Regions from separate parts of the Homo sapiens genome. Here region 1 is linked to region 2. The links are contacts of gene promoters, found by promoter capture Hi-C in blood cells and fetal thymus (Javierre and others, 2016). All regions are on one chromosome and are shown on one strand. The core of a region is centred on a gene start or on the middle of the fragment in contact, and the rest is flanking DNA. Distances in the headings are between cores, read along the strand shown.

Evidence for each region. Contacts are between HindIII fragments. The CHiCAGO score rates a contact against its expected background, and 5 or more counts as called.
Region 1: a contact is called between a fragment that was not itself captured here and the fragment with the promoter of CRYBG2 in region 2, in 1 of 17 cell types (M0 macrophages). The highest score is 5.2, in M0 macrophages.

Annotation. Positions count from the first base shown.
Region 1 is chr1:26,079,177-26,084,545 of GRCh38, forward strand. No RefSeq gene overlaps it. Among named protein-coding and RNA genes, the nearest start is that of TRIM63, 14 kb to the left of the region's middle. RefSeq lists a silencer at 40-216. The HindIII fragment of the contact is 7,537 bases long and covers 1-5,369 here.
Region 2 is chr1:26,350,346-26,355,724 of GRCh38, forward strand. It overlaps CRYBG2 (crystallin beta-gamma domain containing 2), which reads right to left and starts at 3,785. Exons shown (of 20, transcript NM_001039775.4): 1 at 3,691-3,785. RefSeq lists a silencer at 1,086-1,284. The HindIII fragment of the contact is 7,544 bases long and covers 1,028-5,379 here.

The DNA.
Region 1 (5,369 bases), core at 1,601-4,100, 270 kb before region 2:
AAGTAAATTTCTGTTGTTTAAGCCACCCAAGCTGTGGGATTTTAGCAGACTCATGAGGCTTTGCACTCAGAGGGTTCAGGATTTGACTTCAGAGCGCTGACTGTTTAGCCCTTGTTCTTAACCTTTCCCTCTTTCTCCGGGACAAACACAGGCCCTGGCGCCCCCTGATTCCCGCCTGGCCCGTTTGCTGGGTGAGAGGCTCTTTTCACTGACAGTGAGGCCCTACGTGCCACTGGGAAGACTTGGAAACAGGACTGGGGGAAGCCTCTGGGGCAAACTCCAAGTCCAAGGATTCAGTGCTGGCCCAGATGTTCCTTTGTTTATACCCCTGGGAGACAGTCTTGGGGGCTCAGCTGCCCACCCCACCTGGCCTGCCGCTCCCCACCCCCACAGCTTGAACCTGGGGTTTGCCACACACACCCTCAGGGACTATCCAGATCATAAACAGTGAGCAGGAGGAAAACAAACTATATTTAAAACAGCAGTTGCTTCACAAACAAAGCTGGTGGGGGGAAAACACTAGAAACATGAAAAGACCAAATGTCAAAATCCATAATACGTTAAAATTTTAAGAATAAGCAAAAGATATAAAATGGCAATTCACAGAAGAATAAATGTCAATGTCCCCAAAAACAAAAGCGAAAAAAAGTGCTTATCCCCACTAATTTAAAAATATCACATTAAAACCACAATAAAATCTGATTTTTCTTTGATCCAATAGACAAAAGTATTAAAGATTAATAATATCCAAGCTCGGTGAGGGGTAGGGACATGGGCACTGGCACTGCTCTTGGCCCTGGGGGAGCAGGAGAGTGCAATCTGACAAAGAAAAATGTTAACAATACATACATGTGACTCAGCAATTATATTCTGAGGACTCTATCTTATCAAAAGACTAGAAAGATAACAGAAAGATATAATTAGATAGATAGATACAGATATGCAGATATAGAGAGCTATTTACACACCAGGACGTTTTTGCAATTTTGTTTGCAGTAGCAAAACCTTGGAAACAGCCCAAATGTCCATCAATGGGACAAATAAATAAATTGCCGTATAGTCACCTAGTGGAATATTATACAGAATTAGAATAAACAAATCTTGCCACACGTAACAACATGAGGGAAGCTCATAAATAGAATGTCAAGCAAAAGAGGACATCCTGTATAATTCTGTTTATATAAACTTTGAAAAAGGCAAAACGAATCTGAGCTGTCAGCATTCAGGATGGTGGTTATCCTTGAGGAGGCCAGAAGGAAGCATGGAGCCCCTGCGAGTGCTGGTGATGGCCTGTTTCTTGACCTGGGTGTGGGTGATGCAGGTATACTCACTCTGTGAAAATGCCTTGAATTGTACACTTAGGAATTGTGTACTTATTTTGTTTTTTTGAGACAGGGTTTCACTCTTGTCACCCAGGCTGGAATGCAGTGACGCAATCTCGGCTCACTGCAACCTCCACCTCCCAGGTTCAACCAATTCTCCCGCCTCAGCCTCCCGAGTAGCTGGACCTACAGGCTCATTTTTGTATTGCTTGGTAGAGATGGGGTTTCACCATGTTGGCCAGGCTGGTCTCAAACTCCTGACCTCAAGTGATCCACCCACCTCAGCCTCCCAAAGTGCTGGGATTGCAATGTGTACTTTTCTGAATGTATATTATACTTGAAGAAAAAGTTTACTAAACAATAACAACAACAAAAAGCATACCCCAATAAGCATTCCAAATGTCCATGCAGAAAAATAAATGCTTATATATATACATAAATATTCCTCCAATTTTAAAACAATGGACATTGAGCTTTCCATATTGAATACCAATATCAAAAGATGTCAGCAATATATTGTTAGGCACAAACAGAAAAACACACGCCTATTAAATATAATCTGATCCTATTCTTCTAAAAAATATTATACATGGGTATCTAAATAAACGTATGTAACAAATATGTGGTACAGGCATAGAAAATGGATGGAAAGAAATCTCCAAACTGTTAAAAACTAGGAGCCAGGGCTCCTTAATGAGGCCCTCTAAAGGCTCCTTAATAAGCCCATTTAACGAGGCCCAGCAGGAAACTTGAGCTACAGCTGAGCAGAACTGGGCCCTCACCTCTGTCAGAGCTGGGCCCTGGCACAGCCCTGGGTAGGCCAGGGGCCACTTAGGATCAGAGTTTCTGGAAGCACCATGCAAGGCGAGCCCTGGGGGCCCTGGAACAGCCAGGTCAAGGCCGGGGGAATGGACCCTGAGAGGTAGGATGAAGACAGGAGAATTAGCCCTGGCCTCATGGGCCCCAGTGGTGTTGGGGGAAGTGGGGGGAAGACAGCCCTATCTGGACACCCCAATTAATCATCAAAACCCTCAGGACACCAAGGTCATACTGTTAGTAGGTGGAACAGCCAGGCCTTGATCCCAAATCTGTTTGAATCTCAAGTTAGAGGCTCTGTACTGGGCTGGGGAGGGTGTGGTAAAGACAGTAGAAAGGAGCATGGTGCCCTGTACAAAGACCCAGAACCCCACGGCAGGAATCACAGAAGTGGCTTTGGCCCAGTGCCCGCAGCTAAGCCACCCTCTGTGGTCAGAACTCAACCACTAAATCTGGCTCCAAGAGCCGCTCCGTTAACTCAGCACTGACCTCCACCTCCAGCTTCCAGCAGCCTGGAGGCTGGCCCCATCCAAAATAGATCCCAGGAGCGAGAGCCAGGTCTATCTACTGTGCCTCTGTACACAACCACCCCCAATCCCCCTATTCACTCACCACCCTACTTTCCCCAGCCCCCTTCACCCACCCCGCCCCTGTGTTCTGAGTCACTCAGGACATGATGGCTATTAAGGAGATGGAAAGAGTAGGGGCAGAGGAGCAGGGGTGGCTGGAACAGCCTGGGTCCCAGGTTCAAGTCCCCAGAGTTGAGCCAGATGTGGCCTGGCTGATTGTCCTAAGCAACTTAGAACAAACAAATTTATCAGGTGTGGGACAGCAGTCAGCAGTTGGGAGCCTACTGTGTACTGGGTTTATTCAGTCTGTACAACTGTCGGTATTAATGTCTCTGTTTTACAGATAAACTGAGTTCAGAGGTGAAGTAACTTGTCCAAGGTCACCTACAGCTTGGACCACTGAACCAAGGAAAACGTAGATTTTGAGCACAGTCCTGCTACTTACTAGGAGGAAAGCCGTGTGGCTTGGGCAAGTTACTTTACCTCTGTGAGCCTCAGTTTCCTTATCTATAAAGATGATGTTAAATTAATATTTAACTTATAAAATTGTGAGGATTCAAAAAGATAACGTTAATCTGAGTGCTGTGGCACACACCTGTAATTCAAGCTGCTCAGGGGGCTGAAGCGGGAGGATCGCTTGAGCCCAGGAGTTTGAGGCTGTAGTGAGCTGTCATTGCACCACTGCACTCCAGCCTGGGCAACACAGCAAGACCCCATCTTTAAAAAAAAAAACAAAAAGGTAATGTTAAAAGTCTTAGCATAGTATCTGGCACATAGAATGTCCTTAGAAAATGTTTGTTTTACTTTTTTTTGAGACAGGCTCTCTCTCTCTCTCTCTCTCTCTCTCTCTCTCTCTCTCTCTCTGTCTCTGTTGTCCAGGCTGAAGTGCAGTGATGCAGTCACAGCTCACTGCAGCCTCAACCTCCCGGGCTCAAGTGATCCTCCTGCCTCAGCCTCTGAGTAGCTGGGACTACAGGCATGTGCCACCACACCCGGGTAATTCTTTTTATTTTTTTTTGTAGAGACAGGGTCTCTCTATGTAACCAGGCTGGTCTCGAACTCTTGCCCTCAAGCAATCCTCCTACCTTGTCCTCCCAGTCTTAGCAAATGTTATTATGATTAATTTAATTATCTGACCAATGAGAGAGTTTACTCCCTCAGAGCAGTGGGGTTAGGGAAAGTTTTTAACCTTCCTAGATCAATCCAGGATGTCTTCCTGAAAGAAGCAGCATTTCTGTCCCATTTTAACCTGAGACCATGAATTCCCTAGGTATATAAGGTTGTGATGGGGTAAGCATGGGGAGTATTTGGTAGAAGAGGGCACACCTTGGATAGGGAGAATTGCCTCAGTCTGGGTGTGGGGGGTCAGGCCAGGTCTAAACACAGGCAGGACTCCAGATCTCGTTCTCGGAGAATGTCCCAACATCCTGCTTGGGCACCTTGGATGATAAACAGGTTGTCACCCTCCAAACCCCAGGTGAACCTGATAAATCCTGGCAAAGCTGAGGCGAGGAGAAGAGGCCCATCTATAAATACTCAGTGACTCAGGCTCAGTGTCGTGTTGAAAGAGCTGCTTGTGTTTATGGCTCGGTTGCTCTGGGGAGGCAGTCCAGCTCTAGGAGGAAGGTCCAAGCTGCCCTGAAGTCTCAGACCTCCCAGTTTTCTCTGCTGGGGCAGGTTTGGGACCTGGGGCCAGACCCACCATACCCTGGCTTAGTGTCCAGTCCATTATGGGACTCTGAACAAACCTCTCACTTTTCTGAGCTTCTAGCCATGCAGGAAATGAAACATGTTGACTCTCCCTACTTTGGCCAGATAGGCTGTGAGGCAGGATGGTCTAGTGATCAGGCACTCAGGTTTTTGGTGCCAGATAAATGTAGGTTCAAGTCCCAGTTTCATCCTTTAACTAGCTATGTGACTTTAAGCCAGTCAATTCATTTTTCTGAGCCTCAGTTTCCTGAACTATAAAATGGAGACGATAATGGAACTTTTTTCATAGAGTTGTCATGAGGATGAAAGAAGACAAAATACATAAAGCACTTAGCAAAGTAACTGACAGGTAATAAACACTCAGTTAATGATAGCATTATGATTGCAAATTAAGCTAACTGTTTAAAATACTTTGAAAAGGGATATTGGAGATCTTGGTTCCCCCAGAGAGATATTTTGAGAGTCAATGATTACCCAAGAACTTCAACTACCTCTCTGCTTCCTAAGTAGAACGAGCCAAGCTATGAGGAAAACAAGACAGTTCCCCAAGATTGGTAGGGAAAGGGCAAGGCACTGTCACTCATCAAATACCTACTGTGTGCCAGCTGTTGTCACCTCCAACATCATCTCACTTACTCTTCAGCCACCAGCAAGGCACAACTTCCCTACACAGACCAATAAACCCAGACCCTGTGAAATGAACTGAATGGCAGAGCTGGGATTTGAGCCCAGGTCTGAGTACTTTCAAAGTGCTTGCGTGTGATCCTATCACACTATGGTACTTGGCTGCCTCCCTGGTCTAGGAAGGTGGCCAAGGAAGAGACAGAAGTGAGAGAATGAGGAAGGGAGATTCAAGGTGCTCAGCAACAGTCAAGGGAGAGTGTAGAGATTTAGAAGGAGATGGGAGGTGGAGAGCTGTTTGGGAAGAACACATGACTTTGAGGTGACTGTT
Region 2 (5,379 bases), core at 2,535-5,034:
GCAACAACAACAAAAACAGCCATTTGGGGAGGGCTGACTCTGCCAAACACCTTGCTAAGTGCTTTAGATTCATTGTCCCATTGAAGCCTCAGAAGAATCCCAGGAGCTTGAGACCTCATAAAGAATAAATTATTAATAAATTAGATCATACCTTCCCATTTTGCAGATGAGATTTTTTAAATGCTCAGAGAGGTTAAGAAACTTGTCCAAAGTCACAGAGTAACCGAAACAAGACTTGAACCCCAACCCTAAGTGCTCACTCACCATACCAAACTCCCTAATATATGTATCCTATAACTGAGTCTCTGGTTTGGGGGTTTACATTTACAGGGAGCCATGTCAGTCCTGGAGGGCGTCTCCACCCCCACTCCCTGACTTCCAAGCTACACTGACCAGGGCAATCCTATTCTTAGGCCCCACGAACCCCAGAGAGGCCAGCCTGTTCAGCCCGAGTCTTTGGGCCTTCTCCATGAGGTACCCTCCCCTCCCCAAGAGACCTGACTCTGGGCAGGAAATGGACCCACTGCCCCCACTCCCCTCCCCCATTTCCCATTGTCCTCCTTCCTGAGAAGCTGGTGGAATTCAGAACTTTGACCCTTCCCTGTGGCCACAGCAGTGACTCAGGCTTTATGAGGGGCAGAGATGAAAGAGACTGAAGCCCCGGGAAGCCTGACCTGACTCCAGGACTGCTGGTGGCTATGACAGTGTCAGGGACAGGGTCCAAGGGGGACTGGAAGGTGGAGGGGTTAGGTAGAGCCCTGGTCATTTTCCCAGGCCAGGGCTTCCTGAGAGCAGTACACAGCCAGACACCAAAGGCTCTGGATTTTAGCCTCTCACTGAGGCCCCAGCCCACTCCCCTGTCCCCATTAGGGAGCTCCCTTTTTCCTCATGCAACCCCTGCCCTCCTCGCTGGGACTCTGCCCAAATGAAGTTTGACGCCCTCGCTGAGCACCTCCTAAGCCCCTGTCCACCTGCCTTCCACTCTCCGAGCTTCCTTGTCTCTGATGGTGCTTATAGTAAGTGGCAAAGCTTGAGCTCTAACTCATTCATTCATTCATTCAATTACTCACTCATTCAGTGCTAATTGTATCAAGGGATGTGCTAGGCCTTGGCTAGACTCAACCAGAACCAGAGCCAACTTTCTCATGAAAGGTGGCATATTAAGAAGCCAGGGGCCAAGGAATTAGACATAAAAACAGGGACATTTGGAAAGCGCCATAGGCATCAGGAAAGCGACAGGAGAGCAATGTTAAAGGAGGCGGCCGATCATGAGATCAGATATTGTCGATGACCTCCTACCAATCAGAATTTAACGTCTTTCTCAACCAGCCCAACCCCTGGACAACACCCCTGATAGCCAGTCATTCCACAAGCATGTGGTCATTGGCTTCTGCCTGCATACCTCCAGGGACAGGGAGGTCACCACTCGACAGTTCACCTGCCCCGTCCCTGAACAGTCATGAGTGCTAGAATGTCCTTCAGACTCTGCTGGAATGTGCCTGCCTATAGATGCCCCCTTTTGTCCTTGCTCTGAAGACATACCCCAATACAATGACCCAGGATGCCTCTCCTGGGCCAGCAGAAGGGGCCATTCCCAGAGCCCTTTCTTCTGCAGGGCCCCAGACCAGAAGTGGATTTGTTGGCAGCGTGACCTGTGACCTCCAAACAAGGCGTGTGGAGCTGGGAAGGGAGAGGCTGAGGAGGGGGCGGGGGGAGTGTGGGAAAGAGCCTTGTCTAACCCAACAAGTCCTGGATTCTCCCCACTTACCTGTGAGTCACCCCCAAACTAGGCCAAACCAGTCCACAGGCCCACATGCAGGCAAACACATGCTGTGTCACACAGACGCAGGCACAGACACACAGACAGATACCGACACAGACCCACAATCACACAGGCACAAAGATACACCTAGAAGCCTATAAAAACATACACAACCAGGGACACACACACAAATATACACTCACCCAAGAAATACAAACACGCACAGGCACTCAGAGCCACAACAGACACACAAATCACATACAGACAGAAACACAGGCACAGTGACACACACGTGCACACATTCACAATACACACACAGTCAATTCACAGCCCCAAGCTCTCTTCCCCTTGAAATTCACCTACCCCTGAACGTGGACACACACGCTTGGATGCACACGTATCTTACACATTCCCACTGGCAGTCCCAGCTATGTCTCACTTCTTCTCGACTCCCATATTTGCCAATCTTGGCCCAGAGAACCTTCTCCCAGGAAGGGGACATAGAAGGATGATGTTTCTGGAGGTCACCTGCCCCCCACTCTAAGTGAGCCCTAGCCTCCCACCTGAGTCTGTCATTATCCACCTGGGCCCAAAATACCCAGGTAGTGGCAGATAGAAACCACCTCCCCCCAGCTAACCCTACTTCTCTTTCCCGTCCCCCTCTCCAAGGTAGCCTCCTCCACCCCCCTTCCCTCTCTCTGCAGCCCTTGTCCCCCAGCCCCTGACTTCTGGGGCATCCAAGCAGGTCTCAGAGCCAGCCTGGGTCCTACATCTCCCTCTTCCTTGGCACGGAAGCAGTCACATTGACCCCTGCTTGGAGGACCCCAGCATTCCTGATTCTGCCTCTGCTACTACAATGCTGCCCAATCCACCGCCATAGGAGCCTAGAAAACCCTGGAGCCCACACAGCAACCTCACTCAACCCTCCACTCTCTGCACAGGGCCAAAGAGGTTTCTTCCAGGCAGGATGGAGCAGTGGTTAGAGCACAGGCACTGGAGTTATAGAAACCTAAGTTCAGATTCTAGCCCCTTCACTTTCTAGTTGACTTTGAGCAAGTGACTTTCAGAGCCTCCTAGAATTAGGTGACAGGGGTTGGGATCAGTCCCTACTCATGGGATGGTTGGGAAGATTAAATAAAATTATGCTTAGAAAACAAATTGCAAATGACAGCCACCCCATCATCCTTAAGCACCCTTCAAAACCCCACCCCAGGCTCATTTCCTCTTCAGGGTCATCCCTGGGAGGTTCCATGTTCATCCCTCCTTGATGAGCTTTGGGGGACATATCCTTCCACCTCTGCGCCCCCCAGGCAGATTTAGGAGAGTCATTTCAACACAAATAAAACTAGGCTTGGGAAACTCGACACCCACTCCTTTGGCTTCCAGCTCAGAGCCAGGTGGGGTAATTATTGCTGTCACTGAGACGTAATTAATAAGCATCCCTGCTATTTTGGCACCCCCAGTCTCTGGAGTTCAAAGTATATTCCTGTAGCCACCTCCTCCTTCCTCATTTTCAGCTACCAAATCCTCTCAACAACTCAAGGCCCAGAGAGGTTAAGCAACTCGCCTCAGGACACCCAGCACCTAGGCTGGGTGCCAATTCCCAGGCTGAGTCTGTGGCCTCCTGAACAGAACTGGGGAGTGGTGTATGCTGTGAAGAAGGCAACCCCCCTTCCTGCCCATCCTCTCCCTGACAGACTTTCCCCTTTCTCAGATGGACAGTGGGGGTGAGAAGCAGTGGGTTCCAGGAGGTAGCCTGTGGGCAAAGGGAGGGAGAGGAAGGCAGGGTTGGAGCAGGGAGGGAAGGCAGAGTCGGCTCAGGGTCCTGAATGAATGGGCCTAGAGCTGGAGAGGCCCAGGGAATAGGCAAAGTCTCAAGACAGGGCAGCCAGGCCAGTCTCCCCTCCCATCTCCACACACAGACCGACCTCTACTCACAGTCTGCGTGGGGACCCAGGTGTCCAGCCAGCCTGGAGCTCCTGCTGCTGGGCCGTGCTCCCCTGATGCGATTGGGCTCTCAGCTGGGGTTCCTGAGGCGGGGCCGTCCGGCACCCTGTGATGGGGCGTGGCCCCTGGGGAGGCTCCCACCAGCCCTCAGATTCCTCAGGGCCGCAGAGGTGTGGAGCTGGTTGGGCCGGTTCTTCACCCTCCTCCCCTGGTGCTTGCCTGTGCCCCAGCAGGGTGACAGTGATGTAGTAGCGGGTCCTCCTGGAAGAGGGACGCGTGTGTAGGGTCTGGGCAGGCTCTGGCAAGGCAGTCCCTGGGGTGGCGGGCTTGCCCTTTGTCCCCTCTGCCCTGGGGAAGGATGCAGGGTGGAGCAGCAGGGGTGCGTCTTCCAGGTTGCTGGGTGGCTCAGGCCTCAGAGGGACCTCTGAAGCTGTGGGTGGAGACTGCTGACAGGTGCAGCCTGAGGATCCCTGCTCCCCATGTCCAGGAGCAGGCCCTGGGTATTGGGGGAGCCTGGTACGAGCAGACTCTCCTGAGGCCACTTCCAGGGCCAGGCTCTCAGGCCCCAGGGAGGCATGGCTGGCCAGGTCGAAGGCGCTGCCCACCGCTGGCCTCTGTAGGCGCCCCAGGGACTGAGCAGGACCCCCCGAGATTCCTTGTTGCTTCCAAATCCAGAAATCATCATGGTCCCCTACATGGATGTCCCATTCTGAGCAGCTCTGGCCTTGGGCCTGGGTGAAAACAGAGATAGACACTGAGAGAGGCAGGGGCATAGTGACAGCTCCCCCTGCCCTCCAGGCACCCCTGGTACCTGGTATCTTCCCTGTCACAAGGAAGCTGAACAGGGCTCTGACACCAAGGTAAGCTGCCCTAGGGAGAGGCTGCTAAGGCCACCAGAGCTGGACAAAGGGACAGAGCTCTGGGAAGGCCCTTCAGCATTTAACTCACCCCTTCCCATTCTACGTAAGAGGAAAGTGGGGCCCAAAGAAGACGGCGACATGACTGAGATCACACAGCAAGCCAGCGAGGGCTCCCAACGCTCAGGTGCCGCACTCCCTCCCAGGTGACAAGGCACCCAGGGCCTGGCCGGCCATGCCCCCCAAAGGCTGGAGATCTCAGCTTCCTTGCAGTCCTGAGGTGCTTCCCCGCCCTGGGGCTGAGGGCTGGGTGGGAAGGCCTGCCTCAAGTGCCCATGGCCTCTGCCCATTCCAAGCTAACAGAGAGACTGCGGCCACCTCTCTTGTACCCTCCCAGCTTGAGACAGAACACCTGGGAGGATGTACCTGGGATATAAGGGAGCCAGAGAAGAGGGTTCCCCTGAAATGGGACAACACCTGACCTCTTCTGCTGTCTTCCCCTGGGGTCCAGCCTGGCTGTGGGGATAAGAGGAGAGGGCTCAGCACCCCAGACCCAGATGGACACTGCCCCCAAAACGACCCGTTTTAAAAGATGGGCTGTTTCCTTGGCAACAGAGGAGGTCAAAATTCCGCCTAGCAGGGATCCTTGCTGCCAAATGCCTTAATTTACTCATCTATGAAACAGATGCAGCCTCTCATTCCCCAGGGGCTGACCACCTCAAGAGACAAGAGTACAGTGATGAACCTGGAGGCTTGGATCGAGGCAACCTGGGCTTGAATCTCCGCCCTGCTGCTTCCTATAATAGCTGCAGT